Regions from separate parts of the Homo sapiens genome. Here region 1 is linked to region 2. The links are contacts of gene promoters, found by promoter capture Hi-C in blood cells and fetal thymus (Javierre and others, 2016). All regions are on one chromosome and are shown on one strand. The core of a region is centred on a gene start or on the middle of the fragment in contact, and the rest is flanking DNA. Distances in the headings are between cores, read along the strand shown.

Region 1 (5,918 bases), core at 1,982-4,481, 590 kb before region 2:
CCTAAACTCAGTGAGACCACTGAGCTCTGTCTGGGTTTCTCCTCCCTCCACCTGTAGCCTGGGAGTTTCCTCTAGTCAGAAGCCATGGCATTCATAGGACTCACTTTATTTGCTTCTGTTTTCTCAAGAACCACTGTCCTGGGCTGCCTGTTGTCCAATAACTAAAAATAGTTGTTTCATGTATTTTTTTCAGTTTTGTTGTTTGATTTGGGAAGACAAGTCTAATTATTACTTCATCATGGCCAAAAGCAGAATTCCAGTTTATAATCTCATTTAAATCTCTCTTCTAACTGTAGTTAAGGGTGTCTTTCTAATACTCTTTATTTATTCTTTCTTTTTTTTCTTAGTTTCACTAAAGGTCATTCATTTTGTTAATTCTTTTCAAAGAACCACATTTTATCCTAGTTCTTCATTTCAAATGTATTGATATTTAGTTGGATTTATTTCTATGTAAACAAATTTCTTTTTTCCTCATTCTTGCTTCTATCTCATACTTTTTAATGGTGGTCATTTTACTCTACATAAATATATTTATATATTTACATATATATTTATATATAAATGATACAGAAATTTTATTAGTGGTACACTCAATATCTGTCTTAAAATATCTATCTTGCCCTCATTTTTGAAAGATATTTTTGCTGTTCATGCAATTTTTTTGTTTTGTTTGTTTGTTTTTGAGACGGAGTCTCTCTCTGTAGCCCAGGCTGGAGTGCAGTGGCGCAATCTCAGCTCACTGCATCCTCCGCCTTCTGAGTTCAAGCTATTCTCCTGCCTCAGCCTCCTGAGTAGCTGGGATTACAGGCATGCACCACCATGTCCAGCTAATTTTTAAATTTTTAGTAGAGACAGGGTTTCACCGTGTTGGCTGGGCTGGTTTTGAACTCCTGACCTCAAGTGATCCACCCACCTTGGCCTCCCAAAGTGCTGAGATTACAGACATGAGCCACCGCGCCTGGCCTATTCGTGAAATTTTAAATGAACAATTATAGGCTAATCAGAATTCTGTTGTCTCATGGCTTTTATCCTTTCCCTTGAGTCTGTTATCAATCTGTTTTGTTCCTAGGCTATGTCCTTTCTCTTTGACTGCTTTTTAGATCTTATCTTTGTTTTTAGTGTTGTTCAGTTTCAATATCAGTGTGTCTAGGTCTAGATTTCTTTTTATTCATCCAACCTGGTATATATTGTATTTCCTTTATTGATATATGTATTTTATAATATTCTTAGTTGTTTTTCCTTCAAATGTAGTCTTTTCTCCATTTTAAAATTGTTTCTTAGGACTCCTATTATTTATAAATTAGATCTTCTTATCCTATTGTCAATATATCTTAACCTCTATTTTGCATTATTCATCTCCCAATATTTTGGAGCTGTATTTCTAGTGGCTTTTTAATATCTACTTTCCAATTCACTAAATCTTTGGTTCTGTTTGTCTGTTTTATCTATCCAATGAGTTTTAAAATTTCTATAGTTGATAGTTGTTATTTCTATTTGGTTCTTTTTGAAATTTACTTGGTCATTTTTGATAGTCTGGTGTTGGCTTAGTTTTGTGATGTGTATCTTTTGTTATTTTTTTGTTACTTTATATATATTTTATCTCTTGTTTTATATGTATTATCTGGGAATTATAATACCCAAACTACTTAGTATCTATTTGTTGTTTCTGCTGACTCTCACTCAGCATGGCTTCTTTTCCTGTGTATTTTGGCATCTTTTATTATGACCTCATGTTTGCTTGATCTTTATTTGTGGAATCCTTGGGGTCTACACTGATGAAGGTTTTTGTGTTTTTTTGAGACAGGGTCTCACTCTGTCACCCAGGCTGGAGTGCAGTGATGCAATCATAGCTCACCGCAGCCTCAATCTCCTGGGCTCCAGTGATCCTCCCACCTCAGACTCCCAAATAGCTGGGACTACAGGCACAAGCCACCACACCTGGCTAATTTAAATTTTTTTTTTTTGGTAGAGTTAGGGTTTTGCCATGTTGTCCAGGCTGGTCTCAAACTCCTGGGCTCACATGATTCTTCCACCTTGGCCTCCCATAGTGCTGGGATTACAGGCATGAGCCACTGTTGGATGCTTTTACTAAAAAAGAAGTATTTAAAAAGAATTTTAGTTTGCTTCTCTCGGGAGCCAGGGATATGACTAATCTGAGGTCATTTTATCCCCCTTTAGTGGCCTGGCTTAATGAAGACTCTCAGGCTTAGCTTCTCCACCTTGTATACTGCTTTTCTAACTTGTTTGCCAGGACTTCCTCATTGCCTATTACATAGTAGGTATTATAAAGGTATTTGATTAAAAACCATTGAGTAGTTCAGTGTGCCTTTAAGCTTGAAGTTATGCAGAAAGAAGAATTATTCTCATGCTACTCATGAGAAGCTTAGGTTCAGAATGAGAAGTGATGATGAGTTGGCAGCTGAAAAGCTGTGGGAGTAAGACTCAATATTCAATTATTTAAAAAATCAATAAAGAAAAAATGTTAATAATGTACATTACCTTTCCTTCCATTAGAAATTAAAAGAGCATTTTTGGCAAGAGTCAAATAGGAACCTCTTTTTTTCAAACACAGACTGGAATGTGTTTCATCCCTTTGGTCTATATAAATTTTTCCTCTGGTTTCAACCAATAGATTGTACTTTATTTCCTGACTTTAAAAAGTGGCATTTACTATGTCTCCTAAAATTCCTTGCACTTTACAATTTGCTTTTACAATGATTTCTAAAGTATTCTCAGTTATTTCAGATGAGACATTTGTTAGGAGATTCAAGCCATTAACAAACTTGGTTGCTGTATGATTGGAAGAATTGGTTTCAGATTTCTGAGATTATAGAAAGAGATTCTGAGATGATGTGAGTGGCCCTAAAATGTCATTTCCATATATCACAACTCCAAAATGTAAGAAAATCACATATATTTTAAAATATATACTTAACCTGAAGAAGACTAAAGCTAAATACATAGGGAAACCTCTTTTTAGCTAAAGATGACCTTTGATAGCAAACTTACCATTTTGCAACCTGCCAGTCAGGCAGGCACGGAGTACTTGCTATGTGCCTAACAGTATTGGGAAAGGTGCCTTATTTGAGACTTACATCTAGGAGTGAATTTTATAATCATCTGTGTAGTCTATTACAAGCATCTTAAGGACAAGAGTAAGATCTGTTCATTATTAGGAATTTGCCACTGTATCTGTAATTCTGCTATGAGGTTATAAGAACCAGAACTATTGTGGCAGTTAGAGAAAAAGACTAGATATTACTTAAAAGAATAGGCCGGGTGCGGTGGCTCATGCCTGTAATCCCAGCACTGTGGGAAGCCGAGGCGGGCAGTTTGCCTGAGGCCTGGAGTTCGAGACCAGCCTGGCCAACATGGTAAAACCCCGTCTCTACTAAAAATACAAAAATTAGCCAGGTGTGGTGGCACGTGCCTGTGATCCCAGCTACTCAGGAGGCTGAGGCATGAGAATCACTTGAGCACGGGAGGTGGAGGTTGCAGTAAGCCAAGAGGTGTCACTGCACTCCAACCTGGGTGATAGAGCGAGACTCTGTCTCAAATAAATAAATAAATATTAAAAAGAAGGCACACAGTTCTGGGACCTCTCTATCTTACTAGTATGATATCTGATATAACATATGTTCTGTATACTTCCAGAACAAATTCAATTCGACAAGACTGGCCAAGTCCCTGATTTCAAGGAGATTTGGGGAGATAGAAAAGACTTACAACAAAACCATTAAACAGCAGCAGAAAGCAGTGTGTTAAGTAAAAACAGGTGATTCTGAAAGTAAATGCCACAGAAGTTGATTGAACGAGATCACTGTGGGTTAAGGTAGAAGGAGAACCTTTCATAAGATGTTATATGAGTTAACTTGGGTGGGGAGGAGGACACTGGGGAAGAAAAATGAGAATGAGTAAAGGCAGGGAGACAGGAAACATATTATCTTGTTGAGAAACAGAGGGAAAAATAGTCTGTCTACAGTAAAATGTTTGAGTAGGGAGTAGCTAGAGATGGCACTGGCAAGGTAGGAAAGCACAGATTATGAAGGACCTTAAAATTTCAGTGGACTCTAAGCTTTGTGTGGGCATAGATCATGTCTATCTTGTTCACCATTGTAACCCTAGTATCTACCCTAGAGACTGGTACATAATATGTGTTCAATAAAATTTTGCTGGATGAATTAATTGCTTGGATGAAGACAGTTTGAAATGTTCAGTCTGTATCTGGAGATCAGTGAGGACCCACTAATAACCTCATAGTAGAACATGAACTAGTCATGTTATAAATAGAAAAATTATTCTCAAGGTAATGGGCAAAATAAACCTGGGGGGTGGGTGGTAGGGAGGCAGTGGAGGCTGGAGGCTGAATGTAGGCAGGGCAACCAGGCTATTCCTGTGATCATGCTTTAGGTGAGAAAGGTTAAGAGTGGAATGAGGATAGTGGGAGAGGAGAGTTGTTTTGAGATTGAAGCAACTGAATTGTGATTCACTGGCAAGTTTTCTGCCTAAAAGACAGTGAAAGGGATGTTGTCAAGATGGATAAATAATGAGTTGATTTTTGTAGTTGGCATTTGAATCTGAGAATTTCTATTCCCATTACAAATCTTTTTTCTAGTATTTCCTTTCCCACATGATCATTTGGTTGGGTTTTTTTCAACAATGCTCAATTATCCATCAATTATTTTTTCTGAAAGAATTACGTTCACCTATTTTTTAATATTTCTGAATTGTCAGAACTATTATACAATTCCATACAATTCCCATCACATCAGGATGGATTTGGGCAGTGCCAACATAGAAAACAACTAGAACATCTCTTTCTTTTCTTTCTTTCTTTCTTCCCTTCTCTTTCTTTCTTCCTTCCTTCCTTTCTTTTCTCCTTCCCTTCCTTCCTTCTCTCTCTTCCTTCCCTTTCTTTCTTTCTCTTTCTTTCTTTCTTTCTTTCTTTCTTTCTTTCTTTCTTTCTTTCTTTCTTTCTTTCCTTCTTTTCTTTCTTTCTTTCTTTTCTTTCTTTCTTGTCTGTCTCTTTCTCTCTTTCTTTCTTTTTCTTTCTTTCTTATCTCGATGGAGTCTTGCTCTGTCACCCAGGCTGGAGTGCAGTGCCGTGATCTCGGCTCACTGCATCCTCCACCTCAAGCGATTCTCATACCTCAACCTCCCGAGTAGCTGGGATTACAAGCACCGGTCACCAAGGCCTGCTAATTTGCTTTTTTTTTTTTTTTTTTTTTTTTCATTGAAGACAGTGTTTCACCATGTTGGCCAAGCTGGTTTTGAACTCCTGACCTCAAGTGATCCGTCCACCTCAGCCTCCCAAAGTGCTGGGATTACATGAGTGAGCCACCACACCCGGCCATAGAACATCTGTTTTGAGAGTGCACAGAGGAAGAGAGGACAGGGCGTGAGAGTGGAATCCCACCTTTTTAGTTAGAATTTCTAGATCTGGTGGCTTTTTATTATGTTGCTTATTAGCATCAAGCGCTAGTTGATAAACCTCCAGGGCACTAAGAGGTTTTTGTTGTATTTTCTCCTTTTTATCCTGACATATAGAAAAAGGGGATTTGTTCAGAGTGGTCACCAGCCCGGCCCAGCCCCGACTCTTCAGAGTTGATGCAGTAAATCAAGTGTATGCACAGACCTCCCTTGAGTGTCTGTTGGCTCAAGACCGGGTGCTGGGTGGGGGGACCCTGACGCCCCCCGCTGACTCGAGGGTCGCTGGAGGAAAAGTCCCGCCCCATCCCACCCCGCCCATAGGCTTTCCGAGAGCCTGGCCGACTCGGAGGGGCTGGTGGGTCGGTCCCCGCGTGTGGACTGCGGGCTGAGCCCCCTCAGGCGACCGTGGTCTTCGCTCTCCTGTCAAGGGCATCACTTAGGGGAAGGAACGAACGGCCCTTTCTTGCTTTCTCTCTCTGGGACCAGAG
Region 2 (5,461 bases), core at 1,302-3,801:
GCCACCACAACTGGGATACAGAATAGGCTTTTAAGGGTGAATTTTTTTTTTTTTTTTTGAGATGTTGTCTCGCTCCATCGCCCAGAATGGAGTGCAGCGGCATGATCTCCGGCTCACTGCAACCTCTGCATCCTGGGTTCAAACAATTCTCCTGCCCCAGCCTCCCAAGTAGCTGGGACTACAGGCATGCCCCATCACGCCCGGCTAATTTTTGTATTTTTAGTAGAGACGGGGTTTCACCAGACTGGTCTCAAACTCCTAACCTCAGGTGATCCGCCCGCCTCAGCCTCCCGAAGCGCTGGAATTACAGGTGTGAGCCACCGCACTGGGCCGTGAATTTTTAACATTACAAAACACCAGTAAGACTTAGCATCTATTCCTACTTGGTTCATCCTGTATCAACCACTGGGAATATCTGAATCACAAGTAGGCAGGCCCTATGGCATAATACTGTGATTCCCAACCTCAGGCTTTAGACTTGATACCCAGGTAAACAAATGTGACAGATTATTGCTGCACAGGCCCTGAAGCCACATCGGCTAACCTCACCCAGTTTTAAAATAATTCCCCCTATATACAATCTACTATTTTTTCATGCTACTAGTGATAAATAGAAATATATTTAATCATTCTGGAATCCACAGTAATTAAATGTTGATTCAGCTAACATAAAAGGTTAACTAGAAGGGTCTCAACATTTCTCTACGTTAAAGAGTACCTCATTTTCTCAGAATTAGGAATCACTGATGTACTAGAAGAGTAGTGGACTGAAAGTGACTCATTTCTATAGTTCTACAGGCAAAAATGAGGGCTCAGCTTTCTGGATTTCTTTGTTCTGTACTTCACGCTTTGAACCCATTAAGTCCTGAAGCTCCCTAAGGGTAGACCCTCTCTTTTCTTTGGAATCCTATCGGTTCTCCCTGATGTTGCTGGGGGCTTCCTAAGATACACTATGAATAGTGGGGTAAGTCATTTCTTCTCCCTCTAGGATACCACAGGCTGGAGTTCTTTTAACAACAAAAGTGTATGCACAGATACTCAGCTGTCATTTTTTTCCTTCTCTGATGTTTGCTTTTGTCTTCCTGGCAACCCCATGTATTCTGCAAGAACCATTCTACTCAAAGAAAACACTCCGGTTTTGGCTGGGCGCTGTGGCTCACGCCTGTAATCCCAGCACTTTGGAGGCCGAGGTGGGCGGATCACCTGAGGTGAGGAGTTGGAGACCAGCCTGGCCAACATGGTGAAACCCTGTCTCTACTAAAAATACAAAAATTAGCAGGGCGCCGGTGGCTGGCCTGTAATCCCAGCTACTAGGAAGGCTGAGGCTGGAGAATCGCTTGAACCCGGGAGGCGGAGGTTGCAGTGAGCTGGGATCGCGCCATTGCACTCCAGCCTGGGCAACAAGAGTGAAACTCTTACTCAAAGAACAAACAAAAACACTCCGGTTTTAAACAGACAAAACGCAACGCTTCGGTAAAGCATGAGCTCTTAAGTCAGCCAGGTAAGTCTCGTCTTCCTCATTTAGCCACGCTATCTTGGGCAAATCACTTCATCTTTCTAGGATTCAGCGACTGTAAAATGCAGAGGGCAGTAGTTAACTTCCTCACAAATCCTAATCACGAGAATTAAATGAGAGACGAAGTAAATCACTTAGCACAGTGGCTAGTACTTCCTAAGGGCTTAAAGGGCAGCTATTATTTCTGCTTTACTTTTATACCACTCCTACAAGCACAAAATTTCTTCCATTCCTGTGGAACCAGCTTGCAGGCTTAAGATGAAAATAATTTGAGGACTAAAGTATTTTTATTTCGTTATTCCTACAGATAAACAAGGGAGACGTGGGAAGTTGGAATAACTTACCAAACCACCCAGGGCCAGCACCTTACACAGTTTAGATAAAAACGCAGGTCAGACTCCACGGCCTTGGATTTAAGCATACAGCACCGTGCTGCCTCACTAAGGAAGCTGGAAGCATTTAGCTCCCTTAGTTCAGAAGCCCAGCAGGGCTAACGTATTTATAGCAAGGACCCTAGGGCCCGGAAAAGCTACTGGCACACAGCAGGAACTCCTTAAACAAACTAGCGCCAGCTGACCCACATCTAAGTAAATGCCCTAGCACATCTTCCTTTCCTATAGGAGGAAAGTAGGGAAAAAAAAGTCTAGTAAATGTTAATATTGTTTGTATCGTAATTTTTAGTCAAACGAAGGCACTGAATCCACATGCAAGTTTCTCTTAGAGAGAAGGTGAACGTTTGCATTTGAAGGAGTGATGCCTGGAAGCGCTATTTCCAAACTCAGAGAATCCTCCCACACCAAACCCTCGCAGCAAGGTTCCAAGTCTCCTCTCTCCACTTCCAGGCCCCTTGTACCCGCTCAACGCCCAACCTCAACGTCCAGCGCCCAACGTCTGGCCCCCAACGACCGAAGCCCCCTCCCTTCCCCTTCATGCAGGCCCTCTCCCTCCCCTATACGCCTGGGAACCCTGACCTGGAAAGAGGCAAGAGGACCGCGGATCCGAACCTGTCTCTGCGGTCTGGCGGTGATGGCGACTGCCGATGCTGGGAGCCCTGCCGCCTGGGATGCGCCCTGCACTTCCCTCGCCTCCAATCCCCAGTGCGCCCTCCTGGCCTCAGCGCACGCCTGCGCACTCCGCGTCCACGTGCAACTCAATGTGCCCACGTGTTCCCTCCGCCTTCCCCGGAAGCAGCTTGTGCTCTAGTTACAGGCTCAAAAAGTTCCTTTGCAGAAACTTTTATTTTGTTCTAGCTTCTTCTAGAAAGATGTCTCTGGCAACGCCTTTGGCAAATTTGGGCGCAAAGATGCAGACTTTGTCTCCTCGAAGGTCACTTGGGTCACCGTGGCCACTTAAAGGTCTTCCAAGGTTTTCCAAATAATCAACAGCCTCTGCCTGGTCTTGGAAAGTAAACACACACGTGCTCATACTTTTTTTCTTTGCTTCCTGACTGAGGGCATGTGATTATACCTGTTGGTGTTACTTAAAGACAAGCTTTTTAAGTTTTGTTTTTTTTTTTTTTTGCTATGGAACTTTTCTAACAATTTCATAAGGGAACCCTTGTGTGCCTATCATCTAGTTTCTACCTTATCAATTCATGGTTAATCTTGTCTACATCTGCAGCCCAGGCACTCTTCGGGCAATGTTTTGAAGCAAATCCGAGAATTGTAAATGTGAGACAAAGTAGCGAACGTCTGCTTCTGGCCCCCAGCATAGTCCTCCCTCACTGTGAAAAAGCCACGTTTGTTCACTGTGTTTGTCAGCATTTCAGACCCCTTGACTTAGTAACATCTCAGCCCTCCAGAAGAATGCCTTGAAGACTGCGGAGAGAACTCAGGTTCCCACCTCTCAGAGTCACTGCATTTTTAGAAAAGATACTTTCAGAGATCTAGGCCTTGCCTTTTTCTGTACCTAACGGACAAGATTAATGATGATGCCTAGACTTACTCTCGCACCCAAACTTTGAAAATATTTTGATCTTATATAGCTTCTGGGCACTTTTAATGTAACCCCTGGGCAGAACCTCTACCACCTAATATTTAAAGTGTGCTGACCCACTGCTTTGGAGTAGTTTAACAGAAATTCTCTGGGCTCTCCCTGGTTGCAGTCCTCAGTAAGACTCTGAATAAAACTAACTTCACTAACTTCAATTCTTTAAAAGCCTGATTTTTTTTCTTTAGTTGATGTGTCTTTTAAATTTATTTTTTAGAGCAGTTTCAGATTTACAGAATAGTGAAATGAAAGTGCTGACTGGGCGTGGGGGCTCATGCCTGTAATCCCAGCACTTTGGGAGGCCGAGGCAGGCAGATCACTTGAGGTCTGGAGTTCGAGACCAGCCTGGCCAACATGGTGAAACCCCGTCTCTACTTAAAATAAAAAAATAAAAAAAAATTAGCTGGGTGTGGTGGCAGGCGCCTGTAATCCCAGCTACTTGGGAAACTAAGGCAGGAGAATCGCCTGCACCCAGGAGGCGGAGGTTTCACCGAGCCAAGATCACTGCCACTGCACTCCAGCCTGGGCAACAGAGCAAGACTGTCTCAAAAAAAAAAAAAAAAAGAAAAAGAAAGAAAGAAAAGAAGGTGCTGTACAGAGTTCTGACAGAAGCCACATCGTTTCCCCTATTATTAGCATGGTCTGTTAGCATGATACATTTGTTATAATTAAGGAACCAAGGAACCAACATTGATACAGTATTAACTAAAGCCCATCTTTTTGATTTCCTTCGTTTTTACCTACTGTCCCTTTTCTGATGCAAGATCTCATCAGGATATCATATTACATTTAGTTTTCATGGATCCTTAGGCTCTTCTTGGCCATGGGACTTCCTTAGACTTTGTTTTGATGACCTTGATGTCAAGTTTCCAGGAGTACTCTCAGGCCTTTTGTAGGATGCCCTACTTTTGGAATTTGTCTGATGTTTTTCTGCTGGTAGGAAAGGAGTTACGGGTTATTGGAAGGAAGACCACAGAGGTAAAAATGCCATTTTTATTGCATCATATCAAGCATACATCCTATGAATATGATTATGACAATTGATGTAGGATTTGGTCATCTGGCTGTGGTAGTGTTTGTTGGGTCTTTCTACTATATTCTTTTTTTTCCCTTCCCTTTTCATACTATACACTTTGGAAGGAAGCTATTATTTGAAGCCCACATTTAAGGAGTAGGGAGTTATGTTGTCCCTCTTTGAGGATGCAGTATCTGCAGAAATTATTTGAAATTCTTCTGCATGGGAGATTTGTCTCTTCTCCATTTACTAATTTAATAACGGACTCGGATATTTATTTTATACTTTTTTTTTCTTATTTTATACTTTTCTAATCCAAAACTACTGTATTTCCTTGCTCAGATTTTTCCAGCTTTGGCCACAGGAAGCTCTTTCAGTTGGTTTCTGTTCCTTCACATACTATCATCAGGTGGTATTTTGTTTGTTAAGCACTTTATTACTTTCTGGGATATTGTATCTTTTCATCCAAAAATATTGTAAGTAGGTGTCTTTAAGAGATTACCACTTTTTAAGTAATATCACCAAAACATATCCCAACTTTAAAAACAATAATTTCTCTTGCTTTCCTTTCTTTTCTCCTTTTTCTCCTTTCCTCTCCTTTCCTTTCTTTCTGAAAGGGTCTTGCTCTGCCGCCCAGACTAGAGTGCAGTGGCACAGTCATAGTTCACTGCAGTCCTGAACTGCTGGACTCAAGCCATCACCCTGCCTCAGTAGCTGGGATTACAAGTGTGAGCCATAGTGCCTGGCCATAATTTCTTAATATCATAAAATTAATACTAAACATTTCCAGATACCTCAAATGTTATTTTTTAATTTTCTTTTTAGAGATGGGATCCCACTGTGTTGTCCAGGCTGGTCTCAAACTCCTGAGCTCAAGCAGCCCACCTTGGCCTCCCAAAGGGCTGGGATTACAGGTGTGAGCCACCACACCCAGCCATTCA

Evidence for each region. Contacts are between HindIII fragments. The CHiCAGO score rates a contact against its expected background, and 5 or more counts as called.
Region 1: a contact is called between a fragment that was not itself captured here and the fragment with the promoter of TDRD1 in region 2, in 2 of 17 cell types (naive CD8 T cells and total CD8 T cells). The highest score is 7.0, in naive CD8 T cells.

What each region holds. Positions count from the first base shown.
Region 1 is chr10:114,768,486-114,774,403 of GRCh38, reverse strand. All of the region lies in intron 1 of LOC101927692 (a long non-coding RNA gene), which reads right to left. It also overlaps a transcript of ABLIM1 not described here. Among named protein-coding and RNA genes, the nearest start is that of FHIP2A, 50 kb to the left of the region's middle. The HindIII fragment of the contact is 1,693 bases long and covers 2,385-4,077 here.
Region 2 is chr10:114,176,443-114,181,903 of GRCh38, reverse strand. TDRD1 (tudor domain containing 1) reads right to left here and starts at 2,551. Exons shown (of 25, transcript NM_001395205.1): 1 at 2,488-2,551. The HindIII fragment of the contact is 8,256 bases long and covers 1-3,009 here.